Regions from separate parts of the Homo sapiens genome. Here region 1 is linked to region 2. Evidence: promoter capture Hi-C in 16 types of primary human blood cells and fetal thymus (Javierre and others, 2016). All regions are on one chromosome and are shown on one strand. Each heading gives the region's core, a stretch centred on a gene start or on the middle of the fragment in contact. The rest is flanking DNA. Distances are from core to core; before and after follow the strand shown. Region 1 overlaps RPS6KA2 (ribosomal protein S6 kinase A2). Region 2 holds the start of TBXT (T-box transcription factor T).

Region 1 (5,413 bases), core at 2,659-5,158, 250 kb before region 2:
CTGAATACAGCACACTGATGGGTCTTGACACTCTATCCAATTTGCCAGTCTGTGTCTTTTAATTGGAGCATTTAGTCCATTTACATTTAAAGGTAATATTGTTATGTGTGAATTTGATCCTGTCATTACGATGTTAGCTGGTTATTTTGCTCATTAGTTGATGCGGTTTCTTCCTAGTCTCGATGGTCTTTACATTTTGGCATTATTTTGCAGTGGCTGGTACCTGTTGTTCCTTTCCATGTTTAGTGCTTCCTTCAGGAGCCCTAAAAGAGCTCAAATTTTAAAATTTTTTAAATTTTAAAAAGAATAATAATTTTTAAAGAAGACAAAGAAAAAGGACTGTGTTTCTAAGGCAGCAGACTGTGGGAAGCTAAGTCTATGGGAAACTAACAGAAGATGAGGGCTAGTTAGGAACATTTGTTATAGAGATTATTCTGGAAGCTTCTCCAGGCTGTAAGCATCTAGAGGAGTTTCCCTTCCATCCTTCCAGGCAGAGAGGACAGGAGGGACACCTTTACCCATTTATATCCTCCTTTTAGGTAAAGAAGGGGAGGGCAGAGAGCTTTGCTTATATCTGCATCTTTTCAGTTGTTTTCAGCTCCAAATAATCCTTATGCCAAAGCAGCATATTTTGGGGTGGCTGACTCTGCTACCCTTTGAGGGTCTAAAATCATTTTTACCAACTTTAGCCAAAAAAATACTTTGGCCTTAATCAAAAGAAATTAAGAATTTTCGTTACTTGCAACGGGTAAAGAATTCATTAACCGGAGCGCAGGGACGCTGAGGCAGGGATGACGGTGATGCCTGAGGTTCACGTGGGCCTCACCGTGATCCAGGCTGCACTTCAAGCTCTTCATTCACTGACTCCCTAACCCTAGATCACACCCACTGTGCAGGCGAGGGGCACAGGAGTTTGAGTATCTTGGCCAAGGTCACACATGAGTAGGTGGCCAGTGGGGTTGGACTCCCACTCTCTGGTTCCAGGCAGTGCTCTTGGTCCCAGCCCTGGCCTCACAGGGAGGCAGCTGCACCGTATCACATGTTTCCTCTGTGCGCCATCTCTTCCCAGTGTTTCTCCTGAAGCAGGAAATACTGTCTTAGCCAGCTGTGTGCGTAGTCCTGAGTTTTCAGAATGCAGTCATCTCCAAACGGGAATATTCTTCCAGGACCACACACTGGGGTCTTTTCTGTGTGGTCACCCAGTCTTGAGCATTAAGCACTTACTTCCAGGTTTTCCCAGTACAGTCAAACTCAGGGGAAGCCCTTTGGATGATGTTTTCTGCAGATCTGCTTGTATTTAATGAGGGGAGGTAATGGAAGTAAAGCCACAGTCTTTGATTGCCTTGCCATCAGGACCTCTGTAAACCAGGCCTGACTGCTGGAGTGTGTCCCTTTAATTCCCTTCTACATCCTCCCACTGGATTTCATTAGGACAATTGAGATGTTCAGGATCCAAGCTGTACAAAGGCACGCCACACGTCCTCACAATGGCCCTCTGTCCCCTCAGAACACATTGCTTTGTGCCCTAAATAGCTGCTTTGCTTTGAGGTGTGCTGGCCCCACCATCATTGCAGCCAGCGCAGTCCTCCATGGGAGGCCTCAGAGCATGATTGCAGAGTGACTGCATGATCGCGTGGCCCTGGTCCGTCTCCCCAACGAGTTGCTGCACCCAGGACAGCAGGTGCCTGATCTGTGCTGCTCACTGGTGCTGCTCCAACACCTCACAGTGCATGGGGGTGGGCACACAGGGAGTAGTTATTGAATGAATATCATCTTTAAAATGCTTTTCATTCCTATCTCCAGAGCTCACCACATTTCCTTTTATGTGACAGCTCCAGTAAGCTGCGGCCTCAACTTGGAGAGGTGCTCACTTATTTACTCAAATATTCATTCACTGTAAAAGCAGGTGACACCAGGAGCTCAGAAGTGAGTGACCACCACAGGAGAATGGGAGAAGGTGGGGGGCCCTCTGGAGAAGACAGCAGCTGTTGACACTGTTGGCCTGTTGCCTGCTTGCAGGACCTGCTAGGAAGACAGTTCCCAAATGCACCCTCCCCTCCAAATGCACCTGCCCTCCCTCTCCTGCTCAGTCCTCAGCCCCCAAGTAGGCACTGTGCCTTCTGTCTTGCAGGTTGTTCATCGAGACCTGAAGCCGAGTAACATCCTGTACAGGGATGAGTCGGGGAGCCCAGAATCCATCCGAGTCTGCGACTTCGGCTTTGCCAAGCAGCTGCGCGCGGGGAACGGGCTGCTCATGACACCCTGCTACACGGCCAATTTCGTGGCCCCGGAGGTGAGCATTCCCCGACTGCAGACCCAGGCCTCTCTATCCGCAAAGACAGGCTCTGCCCCCTCCCACTGCAGAGCCACCGGACAGCGGGGATGTCAGAGGCGGCTTGAGCTGCGTCAGCAGTGGTGTTGGGAAACAGAAACGAGAACCTTCAGTCTCTTGAGCCAGGGGCCAATCTTGCTTAAACGTAGTTGTTCTTATCATTCTCATTTTCCCATTTGAAAAAACTTTTCAACAGTAACATTTTTATGTAAAATTGTCTTCTGTAGACAATTTGGATGAAATCTGCATATTTATTCCAAGTTAGAGAGATGATGCAGTAGTCTCCTTATACAACCAGGACGCAGAGCTGCGGTTCACCTGGGATGGGAAATGGATCCGTCATAGCGCAGGGAGCAACTAAGTTTACGGATTTTCTCTGCACCCCAATTCTCACTCCAGATTGGTTCCCCGACAGCAGCAAGTCAGCAGCTGTCAGATTGAGAACCGCAGGGCTCCGGGGTGATTTGCCACTGAAAGCTTACGTTGTTCAGTGTCTGTGTCTGCTCCCAGCCCCGCTCGGAGCAGCTAGCAGGCACCTGGTGAACTTCTCTCTTTTCACATTTCCCGGGAACAAGTTCCATTAGGTTCTGAATTCAAGGATGTGTTTATAAATCTAAGCCCAATTTCTTGCCTTTGAGAAAAGCCAGTGGTAAAGAGAGGAAGGGAAGGGCTGTGGCTGATGTTGCCAATGGGACAGGGGAGGAGGGAACTGGGAAGGAAGGCGGACTTCAGAGTCTGTGTGGATCCCGTGGGTTCTTGATGGAACTGGACCAGAGCTGCTCCGATGGGAGGGGAGTCAAGCGAGCAGCCAGGTCTGAGGCGCCTGGCATCTCACTGTGGGTCTTGGAGTTGTTTAAGAGGTCACCCAGGGCCACTGGTCCATTGCAAAGATGCTTCTGCGTGCTGAGACGTGAACGGATGTGCAGCCAGGGGCTGGACTGAGAGGCTGTTTTAGGTTATGCAGGGGTCATCCAGACACTTGAGCAACCTGTGGCCCCTTTAAAAATAACCAAGTTTGGCTGGGTGCGGTGGCTCACGCCTGTAATCCCAGCACTTTGGGAGGCCGAGGCAGGTGGATCACCTGAGGTCAGGAGTTGGAGACCAGCCTGGCCAACATGGTGAAACCCCGTCTCTACTAAAAATACAAAAATTAGCCAGGTGTGGTGGTGTGTGCCCACAGTCCCAGCTACTCAGGAGGCTGAGGCAGGAGAATCGCTTGAACCCGGGAAGTGGAGGTTGCAGTGAGCCGAGATCACGCCACTGCACTCCAGCCTGGTTGAAAGAGCAGGACTCCGTCTCAAAAAATAAAAACTAAAAAAAATGAAAGTAACCAGGTTATAAGCCTCTGTTCATGCCTTACTTAATCAATATTAATATTGATAATATTATGGGGGAGGAAAATGACGTTTTCCTCATCCCTCATAAGTTCTTAGCTGGACCAGACCCCTGTAACAAAAGACAGATTAACAAGAGAAAAAGAAGTTTATTAACACACATCTTCTCATTTATGCATGCGAGATGCCCAGAGAAGGAGTCATCCTCACAGAGGTGGCTTTGAATCCAGCCTACATGGTATCTGCAACAAAGAACAGAGAATTTTTAGAGACCTGGCAAGACAAAGGAAGAGGGTTAGGGTCTCCAGGGGCTGCAGCTTGGGGAGGTGCAGGGCTGGCCTATGGAGGCTGGTCCCAGGTGGGACCACATGCATCCAAAGCTGTCCCTAGGGGAAGCCTTTGTCCTCTCTGGTTGGGGGTAGGTACCTTTTGTCTTAATCCATGTCCTGATTTTAGACAAATGGAGGACACAGAGCTCTCCTGCATCTGCTGCTTCTTATGTATCTTCAGCTCAGCGCCCCTCACGCCTATGCAGCATATTTTGGGGTGGCATATTCTGGTCTCCCACAATATTGATTTTATTGATTGTAGAATGCCCTAGGTTGTGATATTCCTTTGCCATTTACAAAGCACTTTTACCAACTTTTTTTACTTTCACTCTCATCCACCATACAAAGTAGGCAGGGTAAAATCTATTAACCATGTTTCACAGAGTCAGAAAGCACAAGCTCCATGTGTGTAAGTGACTTCTGAAGGTCACCCCGCTGATGGATTAGGAAGTGAGGCTTGCACCATGAGCACCACATTCATTCAGCATGCGCTGGCTGGTCCCCTCCATGGTGCAGGCTCACACATGGTAGCAGCGATACAGAGAAAAGGACAGGCTCCTTGCTCTCATCTCTAAGGAAATTGAGCCGAGCTCTCCCGACTCGATATTTAATGCTAAATCCAGTCATCTGCAGTAATCCATGAGCACCATTGTGGCTTCCTTTGTTGTTATTCAACTGTAACTATATCAGAGGATTGCCCTCTACTGAAGTATGTAATCCTAGGATGCATACAAGTTTTGCTGCTTTAACAGTTCTTCAAAAAAATTAAATGTTATCACGTAGCCCAGAATGGAACTTCTGGGTATATACCCAAAAGAATTGAAGGCAGGGACGCAAAGAGACATGTGTCCACCCATGTTCATAGCAGCACTATTCACAACAGCCAAAAGGTGGAAGCCACGAGAGTGTCCCTCGGTGGATGAATGGGTAAGCAAAACGTGGCATGCACACACAGCGGAACATTGTCCAGCCTGCAGAAGGAAGGAACTTCTGACCCCTGGAGGAAGCTTAGGGTGTTATACTAAGTGAAATGGGCCAGTCACAGAAAGACAAACATTGCATAATTCCACTCCTATGAGGTCCCTGGAGGAGTCAGATTCACACAGACGGACAGTAGAAGGGTAGGTGTTGGGGGCTGGGGGACAGGGAGTTGTTGTTTAATGGGGACAGAGTTTCAGTTTGGGAAGGTGAAATGCTCTGTGGATGGATGGTGGTGATGTTGGCACCACAATGTAAATGGGCTTAATGCTGCTAAACTGTGCACTTAAAAAGGGCTTTGATGGTCAATTTTATGTCATACATATTTTACCGTAACAGAAAAATCCTTCTGCCTTAAAAATTAAGGCCCTCCTTTTCAGCCTGTCTGTCATGTGTCTGGAAAGAGTACTAGTTTACCATGTGGCTGGCCTGGGAGGAGT
Region 2 (5,423 bases), core at 1,868-4,367:
ACATTGTATTAGGTATTATAAGTAATCCAGAAGTGATTTATAGTTCATGGAGGAAGTCCATAGGTTATATGCAAATACCATGCCAAGGGACTAGGGCATCCCTGGATTCTGCCATCTTTGTAGGTCCTGGAACCAATCCCCCACAGATACTGTGGGTGACTGTTTTACATATATATGAAGACAGATACATATATAATATTTCTACAAGGAGTACATATATAATCAGAAAAGAAATTCATTTGTTTTTCTTGCAGAAAGAGAGGGACTAGAGTGTGGGGTAAGAGTCACGCGAGGCTGTCCTCCACCCCTCCTTGAGCCTGTTACAGCTTCATTGTTGCCTGCTTCTAAAGATAAATGGCTTTGCTTTTTCAGAAGGGATTGGGCCCAGGAAAACTGCCTCTCTGGGAGTCGAGTGGGGTGTGTGTGTGTGTTTTCTTATAAAATGTTTCAAGCATGTTTTCGGTGGGACAGTTGCATCCTGAGGCCCAGCCATAAGGCTTTGTCTTGTTTTTCTCTGAATGGCTGGGCTTGCCAAGGAGAGATAGACCCTGGGAGCGAAACAGCTGGCGGTGCCTCAGCCCCTCTTTCCTCCCAAGGAAGCGCATTGTTATTAACTGGGAATTCTTTATAGCCGGGCTGGAGGAAGTTTTGGCTGTAAACTGTCATGCACTGCAGCCTTCGCTGAAAAGGCGGAGGGAGTGGGCCTGGTCCTGGGAACCGAGGAACAAAGATCAGAAAATCAGCCACAGAAAGGGGAGGAAAAATAAACGTTAGAAAGTGAAGACAGGTGACACTACACAAGTGCTGGCCAAAGTCGGTGACTTCCAACCTCTACCTCCTCCGACTTGGGTGGTTCAATTCCTGGGTCGTACTCTTCAATGCTTCAGACATTCTCTCTGGAGAGTAGAAATTTTATTACGCGTGTTAGAAACGGAATATTCTTTCCTGCTGAAGTTGTATTCTTATTTGGCCGTGCCCCTCCTGTTCGGAACAGTTTTAGAGCGATCTGTTAAACCCTCCAGTCTTCTTTGGCGCTTCCCGACTGTGGGAAAAGCGGCCGCGACGCCGTCCGAGCGCAGGGGAGGGATCCAGCCTTCGGGACTCCTTTGCCCTGAAGCCGCAGGAGAGGTTTCGCTCCCGTGCCTAGGGTTCCGAGGCCCTCAATTGCCTGGGACCCACCCTCGTTCCTCCTTCACCTCCCCTCCACTTTTCCCTTTTATCTTATCCTCGGGAGGCCTTGGGCCAAAGCGATGACCTCTTAGACATTTTAATACCCGGAGTAAGGAGAGTAACACGCACCACGCTCTCCCCCAAAGCCCAGGACCCGATGAGCCAGTGAAGGCGTGTCAGGAGGGTCCGGCGTCAGGAGCAAATGAGGTCCTTTTGGTGCCTCTTTCTAGAAGGAAACTTCCCCACCTCGGGTCAGCCCCCTGGGAATATCCATGCATCCCAGACATCAAAAGACACTGAGAAATGCGGACAGGGACTAGACGCTCCGGCTTCCTGACTCGTCGGTGTAAGTTGGAGAAGGGAGAGAAGGAGCCCTGTCCCCCACGGGCGGCAGGCACCCTTCCCCGGGACTGGCTCCTGGCAGCCCTCCGCATACCGCGAGGCGGGTCGATCCCTCGAGTCCCGGGCGGGGATCCCTCCTTCGGCTTCCCCAGCAATTCCCGACCCCGGAGCGAGCCCGGCTGGGCGAGGGGCGAGGGGCAGGGGGCAGGGGGCAGGGGAGACTTAGCGCGGGGCGCAGATACCATGTCCGCGGGAAAGCCCCCTTGCTAGGGCGCAAGACTCCTCTGAACTCGCTGCCCCACCCGATGCGCAGGCTTTCTCTAGAGGGGTTGGGGCTGGGGTGCCCGCTCAGGAGACCGGGAAACAGAGGCTGCTACCCGAGGCAGGCCCTCGTCCAGCGAATGGGCGAGGTGTGCAGAAGCGCAAAGCCAGGCCTTGGAAGGGGGAGCTTCTGCCTCCTTCCCCCTTCCTGGGCTCCCGTTTTAGGAGGAATGTTACTGTTTAAAGAGACCCCACTGAACTATTTCCTGCTCATTGTCACCTCTCCTTCGCTCTCCTCGCGTAAGTTCTCACCGAAAGGTAATAAAACAACCGCTGCCGACACCGCTTGGCGCTGGGCCGGGCGGGGAAAGCGCCCCGAGTCCCACTAGTCCGGACCACCCCGCCAGCCCCGACCTTCTCCCACCTTCCGTGAAAGCAATGACACAGCAGAAACCACGCACACGCCTGGCACACTCGATGCGCGCGCTGACCTCGGCAACAAGTCCTGTTTTTATAAGAGAGCGAGGAGGACACTTCTCAGAAGGGGTTGTTTTGCTTTTGCTTATTTCCGTCCATTTCCCTCTCTGCGCGCGGACCTTCCTTTTCCAGATGGTGAGAGCCGCGGGGACACCCGACGCCGGGGCAGGCTGATCCACGATCCTGGGTGTGCGTAACGCCGCCTGGGGCTCCGTGGGCGAGGGACGTGTGGGGACAGGTGCACCGGAAACTGCCAGACTGGAGAGTTGAGGCATCGGAGGCGCGAGAACAGCACTACTACTGCGGCGAGACGAGCGCGGCGCATCCCAAAGCCCGGCCAAATGCGCTCGTCCCTGGGAGGGGAGGGAGGCGCGCCTGGAGCGGGGACAGGTGAGGCCGCGCGAACGTTCCAGCCTGGCGCGGCTGCGGGATCCGGGCGCGCTGGGAAAGCGAGGAGGACCCCGCGCGGGAATCAGGGAGCATCGCAGGCTGCCGGGCAGCCCCTCGCGGAAGTGCGGGCTGGGGCGGGCTGGGGCGGGCTGGGGCAGGCCGGGGCGTCCAGCTTACCTTCCTCCGGGGCTTGCCCCGCCGCTTTGATGGAGGTGCAAACATTTGGAGAAGGGCGGGGGTGTAGGGGCTGGGCCGGGGCTCGCAGGGCTGGGGCCCCGGATTTACATGAAACAGGCGTGCGGGAGCCCATTGTTGGCCCCCGGCCTCCCAGACCCGCCCGGCTGGGTCTGATATGGCCGCTCTCGGCCAATGGGAGGCTGCCCGGCACTTCAAAGCGTGCGCGGCCCAATCCGCCGAGCACCCCAGCGCTGCCGCCGCGGCTCTATTTATGGGGAGGGCACTGAATTTCGGTCCCCAGAGACCTACACTAGTAGAGCCTTGGGGAGTTCAAGTGGAATAACTTCTCCCCACCCCTCTGCCCCCGTCCCCTCCCCCCAAGTCTTGGTCCGCGCCCTCCTCCCGGGTCTGTGCCGGGACCCGGGACCCGGGAGCCGTCGCAGGTCTCGGTCCAAGGGGCCCCTTTTCTCGGAAGGGCGGCGGCCAAGAGCAGGGAAGGTGGATCTCAGGTAGCGAGTCTGGGCTTCGGGGACGGCGGGGAGGGGAGCCGGACGGGAGGATGAGCTCCCCTGGCACCGAGAGCGCGGGAAAGAGCCTGCAGTACCGAGTGGACCACCTGCTGAGCGCCGTGGAGAATGAGCTGCAGGCGGGCAGCGAGAAGGGCGACCCCACAGAGCGCGAACTGCGCGTGGGCCTGGAGGAGAGCGAGCTGTGGCTGCGCTTCAAGGAGCTCACCAATGAGATGATCGTGACCAAGAACGGCAGGTGGGTGCGCGTCCGGAGCCCGCGCGCGCCGCGCTCTCCAGCGCCTGGGCAGCCTGGGGGACCTGGCAAGTTCCCGGAGGTCGAACCCTTTTTCTCCTGGAGGAGGGCTTTGTGTTTGTTCCCGCTCTGGTTAACTCCCTCGAGTGCATTTCTACAAGCCCCTCTTCTGGGGCTTTCTCCGCGGAAGCTTGGGGAGGAGGAACGCGCACTTCGGTGTCCCGACCTCGGAGGCATCCCGGGACCCGCGAGGCGCGCCCTGGTCCCCGCCTGTCCCCGCGGGATGTGGCCTCCTGCACTGAAACCCTTCGCCAGGTCCTCTCCTCCCCTCCCTCCCGAGGCCGTGGAGATGGTGAGGAGGCCACCTGGACCTGGCAGGGCTCGGGGAAGGGGGAGCTTGGGAGTCACCCTCGGACGTTCCCCAGGGGGCTCCTCTGTGCCCCGAAATAACTGAGGCCTCTGTGCCCAGCTTCTGCCTCCGGCCTACCTGGTCAGTGTCGGGGTCCTCCTGCGCCCGCCCCGTGTTTTCCAGGAGGATGTTTCCGGTGCTGAAGGTGAACGTGTCTGGCCTGGACCCCAACGCCATGTACTCCTTCCTGCTGGACTTCGTGGCGGCGGACAACCACCGCTGGAAGTACGTGAACGGGGAATGGGTGCCGGGGGGCAAGCCGGAGCCGCAGGCGCCCAGCTGCGTCTACATCCACCCCGACTCGCCCAACTTCGGGGCCCACTGGATGAAGGCTCCCGTCTCCTTCAGCAAAGTCAAGCTCACCAACAAGCTCAACGGAGGGGGCCAGGTAGGTGTGAGGAGCCCGCCAGGTCTGGGACCAGCGAGGAGGGGGCCGCGCTGCGCCTTCTGCACGGGGGTTGTGGGAAGGGACGCTGCTTGAACGGGAGGCGACGTCTGCCCTGGAGAAACTGCCACAGCCTTCTCTAATAAGGCCTTTAGCGCTGTTTATACTAAGCTGATAACATCCACGCCTGGCGAACGGGGAGCGGGAGCACTCCCCTTTGAAGGACTGGAGCTTTTGGGGAACTTCCGTTGTCTAGCCCTAAACTCTCCTGGGGGTGGAAAAGATATCAGCCTTGATGGCAAAGTCGCATTTAAATTTAAACATGCGCCACAGTACTTACTGCGTGGAGTCGGAACAAACTTGTAAAGTCGTGCTTTTCTAAAGAACATTCTTTAGTCGGGGATTGTTCCTGGAAGACCCCAGGTTAGGCAAGTTGCAAACAAGCTCAGTCTTTTAAAAATGACCATAGCCTTCCTGAAAGCCTTAGTACTTTATTCCACCAGGTGAAAGGATTTTGTGATGAGCATTCATTGCTTTTAATGGTGTGTAGCATCTCACATCCCTTTTCCAAACAAGCTGTGGGAATAGCACATATAAACCGCGGAGAAGCCTCCCCTGGTGGAACCCCACTTCCCTCAACAGCAGAGACACTTTCTTGGGATCCAGAGGACTTTCTGCATCCTGGAGAAATGGATGTTTTGCTGTTTTAACGCAGGCCTTTCAGTGCCACCAATCCTGTATCTGTCTCCCTCAGATCATGCTGAACTCCTTGCATAAGTATGAGCCTCGAATCCACATAGTGAGAGTTGGGGGTCCACAGCGCATGATCACCAGCCACTGCTTCCCTGAGACCCAGTTCATAGCGGTGACTGCTTATCAGAACGAGGAGGTGAGAAGGACAGAGGCGGATCGCTTTCCCGGTGTGCTGCGGTGTGGTGTGCTGCTCCGTGGAGATTCTGGAGGAGCGGGGAGACGCGCTAACCCGCACTGAGAGGAAGGCTTCCTGCCCTTTCAAATAATATTCCGGAACTTGAAATGGAAGCACAGGAG

The links. The method cuts DNA at HindIII sites, captures the fragments that hold promoters and counts their contacts. A CHiCAGO score of 5 or more calls a contact.
Region 1: a contact is called between a fragment that was not itself captured here and the fragment with the promoter of TBXT in region 2, in 1 of 17 cell types (monocytes). The highest score is 5.7, in monocytes.

What each region holds. Positions count from the first base shown.
Region 1 is chr6:166,420,136-166,425,548 of GRCh38, reverse strand. It overlaps RPS6KA2 (ribosomal protein S6 kinase A2), which reads left to right. Exons shown (of 21, transcript NM_021135.6): 17 at 2,132-2,293. It overlaps LOC124901460 (a long non-coding RNA gene), which reads right to left. Exons shown (of 2, transcript XR_007059866.1): 2 at 3,796-3,908. Among named protein-coding and RNA genes, the nearest start is that of MPC1-DT, 40 kb to the right of the region's middle. The HindIII fragment of the contact is 2,193 bases long and covers 2,812-5,004 here.
Region 2 is chr6:166,165,545-166,170,967 of GRCh38, reverse strand. TBXT (T-box transcription factor T) reads left to right here and starts at 3,117. Exons shown (of 8, transcript NM_001366285.2): 1 at 3,117-3,582; 2 at 4,112-4,376; 3 at 5,128-5,262. The coding sequence starts at 3,377. LNCDAT (lncRNA divergent activator of TBXT) reads right to left here and starts at 2,871. Exons shown (of 2, transcript NR_166068.1): 1 at 2,818-2,871; 2 at 1-896. RefSeq lists an enhancer at 2,381-2,975. The HindIII fragment of the contact is 11,647 bases long and covers 1-3,771 here.